2 separate regions of the Homo sapiens genome follow, and region 1 is linked to region 2. The links are contacts of gene promoters, found by promoter capture Hi-C in blood cells and fetal thymus (Javierre and others, 2016). All regions are on one chromosome and are shown on one strand. Each heading gives the region's core, a stretch centred on a gene start or on the middle of the fragment in contact. The rest is flanking DNA. Distances are from core to core; before and after follow the strand shown.

Region 1 (5,197 bases), core at 849-3,348, 1.0 Mb after region 2:
GCAACTGAGTCTTCAAAATGGAGTTGGTGTTCCCCAGGATTGTTATGGGATGAGGTGTATTGGTGGAAAGGATATCCTAGGCAGAGGGAGCAAAGTAAACAAATGCTTAGTGGCAAGGACCACCAAATCACATTCAGGAATAAGGAGAAAAGGTCCCAACCATATGGAACCCTGCTCATGCCAGGCAATTCTGCAGGTCGTGGATGGCGTATCTCCCATTTATTGAGTACTGGTGTGTTCCACCTAAATCTCATTTAATTCTCACAGCAACTTTGTGGGTGAGTATTGCTATCCAAATTCTTCAGATATGGAAATTGAAGTTCTAAGGGGTCAAGGCATCTTTGCCCAAGGGGATGAAAGAGGGATTCAAGTCTAACTCTGAAGAAGTAGATAAACAACAAAAACAGCAATAACAATAATAAAAGTAATAAAAACAGCAAAGGTTCATATAGTACTAGGCATGTTTTAACCTGTACCGTTCAATATAATATCCACTAGCTATATGTTGCTACTTAAATGTGAATTAATTAGGATAGAATAAAAAATTCAGTCCTCAGTTGTACTAGCCACATTTTCAGGGCTCAATTGCCACATGTGTCTGGTATCTATTGTATCAGACAGTGCAAATATAGAACATTTCCATCATCACAGAATGCTCTTATTAGCACTGTTATGGGTACTTTACACCTATATTAACATATATAATTTTTATAATCTGTGAGGAGGATACTATTCATATTGTAGAGATGTGGAAATTGAGGCATAAGGAAGATAAGAAACATAAAGAAGATAAGAAATCACATGATGAATGAGTCCTTATTTTTAAGCACTGTGCCATAATACTAACTCAATATATTGTGTTCTGTTTAACATAAATGAATGTTAGTCAAAATAATGGACTTCAGTGTCTGCGTGTATGTAGTCTGGTGTTAAGTCTTCTGCAGAGAACACGTCTTTGATATGATTCTTATCCTTCCAGAAGCATACAGTTGTCAATTTGCATGTATAAAGCTGGTGGTCACTAGAGAGTCTTCTCTGGAGCCCTTCCTCTCCAGGAACTCCAGAAACCTCCCAGCCAGCTTTGGCAAGAAACTCACTGGATGGGATTCATCAGTCAGTTCATTCATCCAAATGACTGAATCAAGAGTCTCAAACAGATGTAGTCTTAAATAATGTTCAAAACCCTTCTTATCCTTTTTGATACTTCAGAGAAGGTGCCTGAGGTTATTAAAAGAGAATCTTTTTCAAGATGCCAACACATCAGACTCAAAGACTGAAAATCCTAGTTGAGTCCAACTTCTACCTCTAAGTTACTAAATAAACTCGACTAAATTACTTCACCTTTCTGAAATTCAATTTCTTCAACTGTGAACTGGAAATAAAATACACATATCACAGGATTTTCTAAGGACTAATTGAAGGTTACAGTGTTTGAGGATACTTTGCAAGCTATAAAGTACTTTATATGGCTATAAAGTGGGAGATAATTATAACACAAATGCGAGAACTCAGGATGTTTTTCTTCTATATAACCTTGTAAGCTTTCAAAACTGCCACAGCGTGATAAATTATAGGAAAATGTACTCTTAATCATAACATTTGCAAAGTCTCTTTTTTATTTTACATAAATATAGTAGGGACTCAATGCTTGGGTGGAAGTATTGTTGGTTGGATGAATGGGAGAGATGAAGGGAGACAGCATATTAAATAAGAGAGCTGTTCATGAAGTTTTAAATGTTCCTTTTTTAACATTCTTTTTAAACATTGCTTGATATGAACTATGTGTGTTACATGGAGGGTTGGGAGACATTTAATTCATTGAGTTAGCCTGTTTTTCTGCTATTTGTTTTTTAGTTCAACAAACATTTATTGAGCAACTGCCATCAGTTGGGCATTGTGCAAGTTTCAGGGAAAACACAGTTGATGATGTCACTGTTTTTTTATGCCTGTTTCTTCATCTGCTAATTTTTCTCCTTAAACATTTTGAGGATTGCAGAATAAACTGACACTGGTATGGTCATATGAAGGGCCCCAGCGGTACCGAGGGCTGCACTTGTGTCAAATTGTTTCCTGATGTACACATGCAGCCTGTGAGTTCTCTGTGGATGGCAAAATATGTTTCTCCGGAAAGAAGAAAGCTCCTCCCACCTTTTCTTGCTTTTCCCTGCTTATCTCTGAACCTCTTTTCTCGGGGATAGCCCATCAAAGCACTGTGTGGCCAAAGGAAAAATAAGATGTCAGCTCTCCGACTCATGTGGTCTTGCAGTGAACATCAGCTATGCATGGCTGCTGAATTGGGGTGGACATTAGGCAGAGTGTAGAGAACCTCTTGAGGGGAAATGAGGCCAGTCCTGCCCAATATATATAATTTTAGGTAAGGAGATACCTCAGCTTGTATTTTAGGAGAAGCACTGTGTATATACTGAGAATGGCTGAGGAAGGACCTCCATTTGTAATTCATTTCTCTCATTGTGGGGATGAGAGAACCAGTTCAAACTTTTAGGCCATTTGTGGCAGAATTGGGGCTGAAACTCTTGTTTTTCTAACTCTTAGCCCATGGCTCTCACTGAGTTTCATGGTGAACTAGCACTTCCAAGTATGTTTTCATTATGTAAGACAATTATAACATCATAAAGTGAGGAGTATAGAAAGAACATAAGCTTTGGAGTCAGACAGAACAAGGTCAAATCCTGGCACTGCTTCTTAAATCCATGTGGCCTTGGGCAAGTTACCTGAACACTCTGCTCTGTTCTTCTACTTCTGCATCTATTAAGAGGAAGAAAGAATGTTTACCTTTTATGGATGTTGCAAAGATTAAATGAGAGAACATTCAAGGAGCTCAGCACAGTACCCAGCCTATCTTTGATGTTGATATGTTTACTAGAAAGGAAGAATCCAGTTGTCTCTTGAGAGGGGGTTCAGATGATGATGATGGTGATGATGGTGGTGGTGGAGAGAGTGATGGTAGTGATGATGGTGACAGAGCTACCATTAAACATCTCTTTTTAAGCATTTCTGCAATATCACAACAACCATGTGATGTTGTGATTTTCCTCATTTTATAGCAGATCCTTCTGTCTCCAAATTCCATCCTTTTCTCATAATAGCACACTAGTTCTCAGGTTCTAAGTCTAGATATAGCAGCAGTGAATCTGCCAACCCAAGAAGAAACAAATAAATATTTCCTACACATTTCTTTTTCCTTCATTTTAATTCCCTTTTCGTATTGACTGACCCTGTAACATTAACTTTGCCTGTACTTTATGTTTATGCAACCAGTAAATGTGGGTGATTCTCAGGAATTCCTTGAACCTATTTATGATACTGTGGAGCAGCGTGGCCAACTCCTTTTCTGTCAAGGATCTCAGAATCAATATATTTAAGATCCCAAGATTTTGAGATGTACAGATAAGTGAACATTGGTTGCCTGGCTATTGGATTTTTATCTTAGAGAAAAACCTGTGAGTCTTGGTGGGGAAGAACCAGCACTTTGGAATCAGATTACCTGAATGTGAATCACAGCCCAGTTCCTTGTGAGCTGCATGACCCTGGTGAAGTTACTACTCATTTCTAAGCTTCGATTTTCTTATCCATAAAATGAGGATAATACTAATACCAATGACATTAGTTTGTTGTAAGAATAAAATGAGACATGTATAGAAAGAGCATGTAAAAAGAGCTCAGTTAAAATGAGCTCATATCTTGGGTTATTCCTGTACAAAAGCCTTTGTGCCCTGAATGGAGAATCGTGTCACTCAGGATTCACTCAGCAAAACACAAACCACTCTAATTGTTTAAAAAACCAGTAACTTAATACCCAAAAATGGCGATCCTGATGATGGAGGAGCTGAGAAGGGCTACATTCCCTGTGAAGCAAATCAGAGATCAGTGAAATGGAAGCAGCTACCATCCCCAGGCTGGAGGGACTAAGGAGGGAGGAGGGAGGTGGTGTTCTCATAGTCTGAGGGCAGGGGACACCAGCCGATGCTGGAGCCATGGCAGCCCTGTCAACAGAGCCCGAGTGGTGGAGGGGAAGCAGCTGCTGCCTGGCACAGAAGAGAAGTAGATAGGCTCTTGCTTCCCCTTGCCTGCAGGGGTAGCCCCACAATACTGAGCAGAGCAGCGGACTTGATCTGAAAACACATAGGCCAAGGATTCTTGCAGGCTAAAGTCTCAGACTTCTATTGCCTGGTTGTGGATATGTAACTACTGTGATAACTAACACAGAAAGTTTGGAAGAGTCTTACTTCCCCCTGTTGCTAGACCTCTGAACAATAGCAGAGATTCACAGGTTGCTGTGCCCCAGAAGGTAGAATTTGGAAAAAGCAGTGGAAAACCCTCGAAAGCTGTAAGAGGCCTGTCTCTGGCCTTTTTCTCACATTACTTTCTAGCAAGTATCTGAGCAGCCAGTGCCTTCAGTATCTGGGGATTTGTGGTCTGATGAGACATTCCCACCCTGCCGTTTACCTGGCTAACTTCTGCAGAATTGAGTATAGACTGAACTTCCTTGGGCCCCTATAGGTGGGTTAGCTGCCTTTGTGGCCCCTCCTGTGATACACTGATTTCCCTGCACTGAAATACTCCATTTAGGCTTCCATCTCCTTCCCACCAGACTGTGAGCAGGGACTTGTCTTCTTCATCCTTGCATCCCCAAGCATTTGTACTCTTACTTCCTGTATTGAGCTAGCTACTGTGGTAGGTCCTGGGCTATGCATGTAAGTAAGAGTGCCAGCTACTAGCAACTTTTATTATAGAAGGGAGGCAGATGGGATATATGATGTTTTAAAATTACCCATGTCTTTTGTGCTAGGGAAGTCCATTGCATGAGACTATTTAACAGGGAGAATCGTCTGTCCTAGAGGGTCAGGGAAGCCCTATAATTAGGAGTCGGCCTGACAGCGAGGTTGGGGGAATGGCATTCCAGGCAGAGGGAAGAGCAAATGTGAAGGTCTTGAGGTGGGAAACAGCATTAAGGATTAGAGATTGAGAGCAAACGTGGCATTGCCTGGGAGCTGATGAGGTCAGCAGGACCTGTTCTCTCCTGTGTCCAAGTCTCTGCGTCCTGCCTGAGCACTTTCCACCCCCAGCTTTGTGTTGTAGTCCTGCAAGTCTGCGTGTTTGTGGCTTCCACATCACACCTAGTATATATCGTTTTGTGCATAGAAGGGGCTTATTGGATATTTGAACAAATGAATAC
Region 2 (5,214 bases), core at 1,997-4,496:
GGGCTCTGTGGTCTTATGGTGTTGATCACTACCCACCTAATCTCCCTGCCTTATTTCACCACTAACCCCTCCCACTACAGTTTGACCCCAAACTAGAGCTAAAGCATTATTTCTAAAATGCAAACCCTGGCAACAGAATCCTACCCCGACAATTAACATACAGTCCTACCCTGGTAAATACCAGGTAATCATTTAAAAAATGACATGATGATCTGTAAATCTTTAAAAGATTTAAAAGATAGCAATCTCTGGCAAAGGGATATACAAATTTAAAAATAATAATAAATGCTACCTAAAAACTTCTGTATAACAGAGGTGGCAAACTCAAACGTCTAAAGAAGCACCATACAACAGACCTTTCTACAATGATAAAAATGTTCATGTCTGCACTGTCCAATAAGGTAGCCCCTACATGTGGCTACTGAGCATTTGAAATGTGACTGGTGCATCTGAGGAATGAAATTTTTAACTCAGTTAAATGGCCATATGTGGCTAGTGTCTACTGTATCGCACAGTACAGGTTTGTAGGGTCCAGGCAAGTGAATATCAGCAAAGTGATACTGATGTGAATGCAGATTCATGACCATCTAAAGGAGGTGCAAACAGTTATGATGGAATTTGAACTTGCTGTGGCCAAATGATTCAAAACTTTTAAGTAAAGCCAGAATTTCAGATTTTAGGTGAAATTTATCAATTTTTAAATGTTGGCAATGAACTTAAAAAATTTTAACGACCTTAACCAAACATTCAGATTTTGTATTTTTGACCTCTGAACTGTATTATTATTCATTCATTCTGAAAATGTTTAATGAGTGCCCACTAAATGCTAGGCACCATAATGGATGCTAGAGATACTGCAGAGAACAAAACAGATTTTAAAAAACCCTCCCCAATTTGCAAAAATAGTAATGAGAAAATATGCTAGTATATACAAAAATAAATCTGAAAAAAGATACACCAAACTATTCACAATTATTTTGAATGGCAGGATGGTGGTTAAGAGGGATTATTAGTATTTTCACCTTATATATTTCTGTGCAGTTCAAATTTCTACGGGATGTATTATTACTTTTTTAAACCTCCACTCAGGCAACTATTTCTGTAATTCCCATTGTTTTTCTTTTCTTTTCGAGACAGGGTCTCACTTTGTCGTTGTCCAGGCTGGAGTGCAGTGGTGCCACCTCGGCTCACTGCAACCTCGCCTCTTGGGTTCAAGCAATTCTCGTGCCTCAGTCTCCTCAGTAGCTGGGATTACAAGCATGCATTACCACATCTGGCTAATTTTTGTATTTTTAGTAGAGACGGGGTTTCGGCAAATTGCCCAGGCTAGTCTCGAACTCCTGGCCTCAAGTGATCTGCTCACCTCGGTCTCCCAAAGTGTTGGGATTATAGGCCTGAGCCACCGCACCTGGCCAGCCCAGCTAATTTTTTAATTTTTTTCTGTAGACACGGTGTGTCACTATGTTGCCCAGGCTGGTTTTTAACTCCTGGGCTCAACTGATCATACTGCACTGCGAAGTGTTGGGATTACAGTCATGAGCCACCACGCCTGGACTTTCGTTGGTTTTCCATGGCTTCCACAAACTCCTTCATATGGCGAACCAGGCCCTCCTACTACTTCTCCAGGCACCTTCCCCAACCCTCCTTCACCCATTCCTAAATTCCAAACTCCCTGATTTACTTACACCCCACAGAAAAAGAAAGCTCTCATCTCTATGTCTATGCACATCTATTCACACTGCTTAGCTCTGCACATGACAAGCAAACTCCTTCTCATTTCTCATGACTTGTGTAAAAATTTTAAAAGAATCCTATTGACACAGAAGGTATAAGCAAAAGCCCCAACACTACGCATATATAATTAAAACCATTATCATTTCTATCACTGACAACCAAGTGTCGTTTTGAATAGAAACAGTGCCTGATATTTTGTAATACCCGGTTTATCCTGAAGAAAGGGTAAAGAATGAGGGAAGAAATCTATTCATGCATTTTCAAGGAGCCAATCACTAGACTACAGAGCACATAAGAAAAAAAAAAATCAGGGCTGACATATTCTCTTCAAAGAGCTGTGGCAGGTCAACAAACATAGCTGGCAGACTTCTAGGATAACAAAATTAATGATGTGAGAAAATTAAACAATTTGGATTGTTAGCCTCTACGAACATTTCAGATCCTTAATTCTTTAAGTACCATCTCCGAATGAGCAAGTGCAGCACTCACTGGCACTCACAGCTGAAGCCTGGAAGACAGTTTTAACAACTCTTGCTGAAAATGACTATTTCTTCTCTAGTTTCTATGGAAACAGCTGTCAGATTGGCAAAAATAGGACATGTACTTTAAAATAATCATTCAAGCAAAGTACACACATGATGGAAGGCTTTAAAAAAGAATTGGACGGCAGCAGACTTGGTTCTTAAGCTTCCAAATGTCAGACTACACCCCTTCACCCCGGCTGAGAATGACGGAGATGAACCTAAATCCTTTTAGCGAGGGTTGCACGACCTTGATCAACGCCTGAATGCCAAATAAGGGATTTTCATCTCCCTGGACTACAATTTCTTGTTGAGGATTGCACGGCACAATAAAACTGTTGCTCCACACACAGGCGACATTTAAACAGTATACAGTGAGTTCTGTAGACGAGTTTACGAGGAAATTGTTAAAACTCCCCGGAACTGCTTAGACGGGGAATGTTCTGGTTTGCCCTGCCGAGTTTAGGCTGGAAAACGTGTTCAGTTTCTCCTGAAGAGGGAAGGGGTGAAAGAGACGAATGCCCGACGCGCCGGGAGGCGGTCCCCTCTGGCAGAGGTGCCGGGTGAGGAGCCCGAAGCCCCGCGGGTGAGAAACCCTGCTCTGAAAGCGGAGCCGCGGATAAGGGCGGGCTGAGGGGGAGGGCAGGCGGCCCACGAAAGTACTGCCACGGGGCAGACACACGGGGTCACCGGCGTGCCCCGGGCAAGGCTAGGGGAGAACCGGGCTCCCCCAGGACAGATCCCCTCCGTCTCCCGCCCCGGCGCCCCCCGCCCCTCCCCTCCACGCAGCCTTATCGCCCACCCACGCCTCCTCCCGTACCCCCATCCCCAAGGATCCCCACTCCTTGCCCGGGCGCCCCCGCAGGCGCTCTGCGCTCCGCCCCCTCCCCACTGCCGCACTCTGCCTCCTCCCCTGGGCACGATCCTACTCGGAAAAGCTGGGGAAAAGCGTCACCGTGAGGACTGACTCAAGCAGAAGCGAAAGCGGTGACACCGCAGACCCGACCTATGCGCAGGCGCGCACCCGCACTTCCTGCCCGCCATACCGGCCGGGGCGCCCTTCGCTCCGCCCACACCCGGCAGTCAATACAGCCGCCCAGAGTCGTTCTCCCAGCTGCCCCGGGCCCCGCGGAGACTGTGGCGCTCTAGCGCCTCCGTGTGGCTTAAGGCGGGACATGGCCCTGGGCTGGGCTGCTTGCCTAGGAACAACTTTCTCCCGTCTTTGGTGAGTTGGGTCCTCTAAAGAATGATCCACGCAAGGCTGTGTCCGTTGTAGTCTCTACGGCAGTACCGGCCAAAAGGGAAGAGACTCGAAGACTGCCAAAAGACGAAGGCTTCCTGGTTCTGAATCTGCATTCATAGAAATAGTCTTTGGAGTATGGGAACAGTGCTTTCATATGATTTTTGGAGGGACGCATTTTAAGAAAGATGAAGTATAATCTTAAGTGTCTGGAGGTTAAAGTAGCTGGCTCCAAAATTATGTGTATAGTATGTTTCATTCATTTCACCAAAACATATTTCTTGAGCATCAACTACATTTTAAGTGCCAAGGATGTAGCAGTGAACAAGACAGACCTGAATTTCGTGAACTTTATATCACAGTGAGGAAAGACAGGCGATTAAAAAAAAGTGTACAAATAAACACAAATAAATAAAAGTGTACAAATAAGCCAGTACAAATAAACACTGGATTGTGATGGATGAGTAGTGAGGTCTCATATTAGTTTATTATGTTTACACTCTGTGCACAATGAAAACATCTCAAAGGACATAAACACTATGTCAAAGGACATAAACACTATGAACAATTTTAGGTATCTCTTTTGGAAAATGTGTAAGTTACTGTTTCGTTTATCTTATGTGTATTTTATGATTTGCCTTTTACTTTGAAAGGGATATCCTGGAAAACCCCTGACAACTGGACCCCTAAAAACTGAAGTAGGAGGTCCTTCAGTCTTCGTAGGGTTTATCTCCCAAACTCTGGAGTGCACATGTCTTACCAAAGTTTCCAGCATGCTAGCCACCTCTTGCTCATCTTGCCTGGTTAGCATAATGTCATTGGTGAAATAGATGGGTGTGATGTTCTCTGGAATTTCCAGTTGATCCAGCTCCTTTTGGACTGCGCAGAGCCATTATGTCATTATCCTGGGTCCACCTGATTTCCAAAGGGGCCAGACTGGCAAGTTAAGTAGAGATATGGCAGGGATGACCAACCACTCTTGTATATTTCAGGTCTTTAATTATGACATTAATCTCCACCATCATCTCACTATCCCCTCAGATGAAATATCGGTTTTGATTTATTATCTTCACTTGGAAAGAAGGACAGCTTCAGAGGCTTCCCATTGGCTTTCCCCACCATGATAACTCAAGACCAAGGACCCTGAGCTTCTTACCAATGTGGAGATTGCTCCAGCTGCCCAATATGTACTCCCAATTATGCACTCAGGAACTAAGAAAATGACTACTGGATGGGTCAGTGTATTCCTGGACCCACTGTAAGCTGGACATTATCCAGGACTCTGCTTATTACCTGATCCCCATAAGCCCCCACACTTAGAGAGGAGCCATGTGTGTTACATACTTTGGGTAACACCTGTGAAATGTCTGGGTATTCCTCTTTCCTCAACATAAAATCAGTCAAGAAAATGGCCGTGGGACACAGACCAAAGAGTAATCATTAATTACAGTAAATATTTGTTTCAGTATTGCAGGATTCTTCTTTATAGGGACCCAACAACCTCTTAAGTCAACAGATTCTGTGGTCTCAGTGTGAAGATAGGCTCAGGTCTGAGACTTGAGCAATGAGCAGTGCCTTTTATTAAGCAACTACTCCCTGCATAGGATAAATAGCTTCTTGTCTTCCTCCAGTTGTAGATGTTAGGCAACACTCTTGTTGGCTGCCCGTCTGTTTTTCCCCTAGGGAGACCTTATGCTATTAAAGCCCTCCACAACCTCC

Evidence for each region. The method cuts DNA at HindIII sites, captures the fragments that hold promoters and counts their contacts. A CHiCAGO score of 5 or more calls a contact.
Region 1: a contact is called between a fragment that was not itself captured here and the fragment with the promoter of OMA1 in region 2, in 1 of 17 cell types (monocytes). The highest score is 5.1, in monocytes.

The regions. Positions count from the first base shown.
Region 1 is chr1:59,548,164-59,553,360 of GRCh38, forward strand. The region is part of intron 7 of FGGY (FGGY carbohydrate kinase domain containing); the gene reads left to right. Among named protein-coding and RNA genes, the nearest start is that of MIR4711, 180 kb to the right of the region's middle. The HindIII fragment of the contact is 1,119 bases long and covers 1,540-2,658 here.
Region 2 is chr1:58,543,480-58,548,693 of GRCh38, forward strand. It overlaps OMA1 (OMA1 zinc metallopeptidase), which reads right to left and starts at 3,247. Exons shown (of 9, transcript NM_145243.5): 1 at 3,224-3,247. It also overlaps a transcript of DAB1 not described here. RefSeq lists enhancers at 2,656-3,282, 3,496-3,685 and silencers at 2,896-2,985, 2,996-3,095. The HindIII fragment of the contact is 5,811 bases long and covers 2,420-5,214 here.